Linked DNA regions of Homo sapiens: region 2 is linked to region 1. Evidence: promoter capture Hi-C in human tissues and cell types (Jung and others, 2019). All regions are on one chromosome and are shown on one strand. Each heading gives the region's core, a stretch centred on a gene start or on the middle of the fragment in contact. The rest is flanking DNA. Distances are from core to core; before and after follow the strand shown. Region 1 holds the start of NEIL2 (nei like DNA glycosylase 2). Region 2 has its middle 48 kb from the start of DEFB136.

What was found. The method cuts DNA at HindIII sites, captures the fragments that hold promoters and counts their contacts. A contact is called where the count stands out against the background at its distance.
Region 2: a fragment that was not itself captured here is called in contact with the fragment with the promoter of NEIL2 in region 1 in 5 of the 25 tissues and cell types used here (H1 embryonic stem cells, aorta, lymphoblastoid cells and 2 more).

What each region holds. Positions count from the first base shown.
Region 1 is chr8:11,768,266-11,770,965 of GRCh38, forward strand. It overlaps NEIL2 (nei like DNA glycosylase 2), which reads left to right and starts at 1,445. Exons shown (of 5, transcript NM_145043.4): 1 at 1,445-2,070. LOC124901888 (a long non-coding RNA gene) reads right to left here. Exons shown (of 2, transcript XR_007060824.1): 1 at 2,613-2,700; 2 at 537-2,143. RefSeq lists silencers at 1,256-1,665, 1,706-1,835 and an enhancer at 1,595-2,095. The HindIII fragment of the contact is 20,018 bases long and covers 1-2,700 here.
Region 2 is chr8:11,924,991-11,927,750 of GRCh38, forward strand. No RefSeq gene overlaps it. Among named protein-coding and RNA genes, the nearest start is that of DEFB136, 48 kb to the right of the region's middle. The HindIII fragment of the contact is 7,723 bases long and covers 1-2,760 here.

The DNA of each region.
Region 1 (2,700 bases), core at 195-2,694:
CTCTACAGAAAGAGAAACTAGGGGGCCCAGAAGCTACCATTGTGGTGAGCCTGATCCTATAGCAGGGGCATCCTGGGGGTGGGGGGGTCGTTATTCTCCAGAAAAGGCCGGACATAGAAAGAGGGGGACCAGAGGCTCTTCAAGGGATGCCTCCTGCAAACCCCATGCCCTCCAACCTCATCCCCTCTGCCTCCAGATGCCTTTCTAGATGAGGACCCTATACCCTAGGCCTCCCCAGGCCTCCCTCTCCTCACCTCCTGCCCTAGCCTGTTCAGTAGGTGACCACTGTGGGAAGGCCACTTGTAACCTCCCTCTCAATCAGTAGGACACAACCATGTCTCTGACGGTGGGCTGGGCTTGTTTCCCTGTGCTGACCAAGTCCTTCCCCAGGGACCCCTCAGCTAGGGTCCATGGTGACTTCACCCCAGCCTATTTCCTGAACACCTGCTGGGGAGTTCCCCAGACTTTCCTCCCAACTTCCTGGAAAGTGCTGGCTCCCCATCCTCCTTCGAGAACTAAAGACAAGAAAACATATGTATCTTTAAACAGCCTATTGTTTTATCTCTTTTATTCTATGAAATAAAAAATTTAATACACAAATACTTTAAGCAAAATTTGCTTATAGTAAAAATTCAAGTAATAAAATTCAAATAATAGAAAGCAAAAAAATCCCACCCGTTCAACATTTCACGAGTCTTGAACACCTGTTTCCTTTGCACCCGACTTCATTAGGCTCGGAGGCCAAGCAGAACCCACAGAAAGGCTTGCCATTGTGGGAACACCCAGGCTGTCCCATTCACACACCCATTGACTTTTCCCTATAACTGTCTCCTTGAGACAAGAAATGTTCCAAAAGGGCCGGGTGCGGTGGCTCACGCCTGTAATCCCACCACTTTGGGAGGCCGAGGAGGGCGGCTCACCTGAGATCAGGAGTTCAAGACCAGCCTGGCCAACATGGTGAAACCCGGTCTCTACTAAAAATACAAAAATTAGCCGGGCGCCAGTAATCCCAGCTACTCGGGAGGCTGAGGCAGGAGAATGGCTTAAGCCCAGGAGGCGGAGGTTGCAGTGAGCCGAGATCGCGCCACTGCACTCCAGCCTGGGTGACACAGCGAGACTATCTCCCCCCGCAAAAAAAAAAAGTTTCCAAGAGCGTCTCTCCAATGTTAGTCCCAGCCTGCACCCTTCTTCCATCCCTGCTTTCACTCGCGACCCTCTAATGCAGCCCTGCCTCCAGCGACCCCCGGGATGGAACCCCTCGCCCACCCACAAAAGAGCAGCCTCGACCTAGACCCACTTTCCAGGGAATGAGCCCTGCGCCTGCGCGCACCCCGCCACCCCCTCCAGGCCGGAGTCCACGCCCACTTGGGGGAGGAGCCCCGCAGCCTCCACCTACAGGGGCGTCCCCTAAGGGGACGGAGGCCGCATGGGCCGCCGAGCCGGGAAATCTCCGCCCCCAGCTGGAGCGGCTGTGCGGGCTGCGTAGCGGTGCTGGGTCGGGCCGACGTGCCACCCACCCGGAGCCGGTGAGTGCAGCCGCCCGCCCTCCGGTAGATCTGCGGCCTGGCGGAGAAGTCGGGAGGGGACAGGAAGGGAGGGCGGGCCCCGGGCCCTCCTCCGTCTCAGCCGCCTGCGGAGGTGCTGCCCACGCCTGGAGGCCCCCACTGACCCTCAGACCCGCGTCTGCGCCCCTCTCCCCGCACCCCGAGGCAGAGTTGGGAAAGCAGTGGTCTTAGACCCCCCACCTCGGGCACTCGGAAGAGAACGGCGGAGACAACCCCTCCTCTTCCCTGGCTGGCGCAGCGCCAGCCTCGAGCTCCTCGGTAGCCCCCGGGCAGGGAGGGCCGGAGGGTGGGCGCGGCATCTTCAGCGACTCTTCGAAGTCCCTTCCGCGTCTCATCTTTCAAGGCTGTTGCAGAGGCGGCTTGCTTCCCACCTGTCCATCTCCATAAAAATCCCTAAACGAAACATGCCCACGTGTCCGGAGATTTTCAGGACTTGGTGCATTTCAGATGAAGGCTTTTCCAGAAGCTTCCCCGTAGAAGAGGATCAGGCATCCAACTGGTTAAGGTCAGCAGCGTTTGGCACGTCTCCTTCCAGCCTGGCGGTTTTGTCAGGATTCCCTGGGGAGTGTCTGGAAAGCCTGATGAGGGGAAATAGTACATCTCAGCGAATCGGCACCAGCGAGTGTAAGATGCGCGTTATTGAATGTGCTGCTGCCGAATATGAGAATGCCGAGATTGTGAGCCGTCACCATTTCTTAGATTTTAAAAGTATTCTAAAATGTTTTTTAGAATCACTGAAATATAATAGCTACCCCCTGCCCGATATCTACTTAGTTCTTTTCGATTTTCATCATAACTTATAGAGAGGCTGGTGCAGGAACAGGTGGTTAGGCAGCTGCCCCGGGTGAGGCTGGGAGTCTCCTCTGCCCGAACAGCCCGGGTGTACACCACTCAGACTGCCTCATGTAGGCGGCTGTCAGTGGACTGGGATGATTTGGGGGCAGGGAGAGTAGAGGTGGCCCTGGGAGCCCTGCGTGGTGATTAGAACAGAACCACAGCTGTTTCTCGGGGATCAGAGATAACTGTCTGTAGCTATGCCGGGCTTACCTACGTGGCTGGGGGTCTCACTTATGATTCTGAGCTCTGTCTGCGTGTTGGTCGTTTCATGCACACCTCCCCCACGCTAGTGGTCGGC
Region 2 (2,760 bases), core at 225-2,724, 160 kb after region 1:
TGACCTCAGGTGAACCACCCACCTCGGTCTTCCACGATGCTGGGATTCCAGGCGTGAGCCACCGCACCGGACAGAAGTGCCTGCCTTTTTAAGGCAGAATAGTCTTCCATTGTATGAAGGAACTGCAGTGTGCTTTTTCATTCAACTGTCCACAAACCCTTGGGTTGCTTCCACATTTTGGCTCTTGTGAATAATGCTGCTATGAATTTGGGTGTACAAATCTCTCTTCCACTCCTGGCTTCTAATTCTTTTGGCAGGTGCCCACAAGTGCAACAGCGGGAACATCTGATAATCCTGTTTCTACTTTTTCCAGTATACACCATACTATTTTCCCTGTTCCTTCATGGTTTTACATTCCCTCCAATCAGATTCGAGCATTCCTACTTCCCTCTCGTCTCACCAATGCTTGTTTGTTTATCATATCCATCCTAATGTGTGGTATCACATTCTTGGTTTGATTTGCACTTCCCTATGATGAGTGATTTTGAATATCATTTTAGATGCTTACTGGCTATTGCTATATCTTCTTAACGACGTGTCTACTCGAGTCTTCTGACCATTGTTAATGGGATGCTTTGAGTTTCTTGTTGTTCAGTTCTAGCTGTTCTTTGTATATGACGCATATCAGCCTCTTTTCAGAGATATGATTTGCAAATATTTTTCCTAATCCATGGGTTATCTTTTCACAGTTCACAGTGTTTGCTGATGCACAAAAGTGTCTGTCATTTAGATGTAATCCAAGGAATCTAATTTTCTTTTGTTGCCTATGCTTTTGGTGTCATATCCCAGACAGCATTGCCCAATCTGATGTCATGAAAGCGTGGCCAATGTTTTCTTTTAGGCATATTATACTTTCAGCACTTGGGGTTAGGGCTTTGACCCAGTTTGTGTTAATTTTTGCACCTGGTGTGACATAGGGTCCACCTTCATTCTTCTGCATGTGGAAATCAAGTTTCTCCAACACCATTTCTTGAAAAGGCTGCTTTTCCACCAATGAGTTTTCTTAGCACTCATGTTAAAAATCATTTGAACATATAGGTGAGAACTTATTTCTGGGCTCCAGAACAAACAAACAACAACAGACACCAGATAAGGATACAGCATGGGCCGAGCACAGTTGCTCACACCTGTAATCCAAGCACTTTGGGAGGCCGAGGCGGGTGGATCACCTGAGGTCAGGAGTTCAAAACCAGCCTGACAGACAGGAAGAAACCCCCGTCTCTACTACAAATACAACATTAGCTGAGCGTGCTGGGGCATGCCTGTAACCCCAGCTGCTCAGGAGATGGAGGCAGGAGAATCGCTTGAACCCAGGAGGCAGAGGTTGTGGTGAGCCAAGATTGCACCATTACACTCCAGCCTGGGCAACAAAAGTGAAACTCTGTCTCAAAACAAAAAACCAAAAACAGAAAATCCAGCACGATATCGAGAGCAGAAAGAGAATAGCTGAAAAACCAGCATAATGAGAAAATGAGGAAGCTTCTTACCAAAGCATCTGGAAATATGCAAGCAATTCTTGTGAACTAAAATTTTCATACTGTACTATCAAACACTAGAACTCACTTATTCCATCTTTCTGTATTTTGGGACCCAATTATCCACTTGTCTTCATTCCCCATCCCACCCCTTTTCTTCCTAGCATCTGCTAACCCCCTTTATACTCTCCACCTTCCTGAGATTCCTTTTGTGTGTAGGTGTGTGATGGAGTCTCTTTCTGTTGCCCAGGTTGGAGTACACAGGCACAATCCGGGCTCACTGCAAGCTCCGCCTCCCGAGTTCAAGCGCTTCTTGGGCCCCAGCCCTCCGAGTAGCTGAGACTACAGGCATGCGTCACCACGCCTGGCTAATTGTTTGTGTTTTCAGTAGAGACAGGGTTTCACCATGTTGGCCAGGTGGGTCTCGAACTCCTGGCCTCAAGTGATCCGTACGACTCGGCCTCCCAGAGTGCTGGGATTACAGGCCTGAGCCACCACACTTGGCCAAGATTTTCTTTTTTGATCCTACATAGAAGTGAGGACATGAAATAGTTGTCATTCTGTGCCTGGCTTATTTCACTTCATATACAGACCTGCAATCTCATCCATTTTGTCTGCAGTGGAGAGAATTTTATTTATTCCTTTTTAGCCTGAATAATACTTCATTGTGTGTGTATACCACAGTTTCTCAATTGAAACAAATTTCTAAAAAGCAAATATTTTTAACTTGTCTCGGAATGTGAAACTTCAGGGATACTGTGCCCATTTTATTCTTTTCTATTTCCCATCTTATGTATATGCAAGTGTATAACAAAGCAGCAATCAATGTGTGTATAAATCTATAATTTCAACAAATGTAAAATGAAAATGCTAAGTGGTGGCTGGGTGCGGTCCCTCCCGCCTGTAATCCCAGAACACTGGGAGGTGGAAGCGGGCGGATCACTTGAGGTAGGGACTTCAAGACAAGCCTAACCAATATGGAGAACCACTGTCTGTACTAAAAATACCAAAAAATAAATAAATAAATAAATAAAAAATAAAATTAGCCAGGCATGGTAGCGCATGCCTGTAATCCCAGCTACTTGGAAGGCTGAGACAGGAGAATTACTTGAATACGGGAGGCAGAGATTGCAGTGAGCCGAGATCGTGCCATTGCACTCCAGCCTGGGCAACAAGAGTGAAACTCTGCCTCAAAAAGAAAAAAAAAAAAAAGAAAGAAAAAAAATAGAAAATGCTAAATGGTAAGAAACAACAGCATAATAAACATTGGTACGGTGTTGATGGA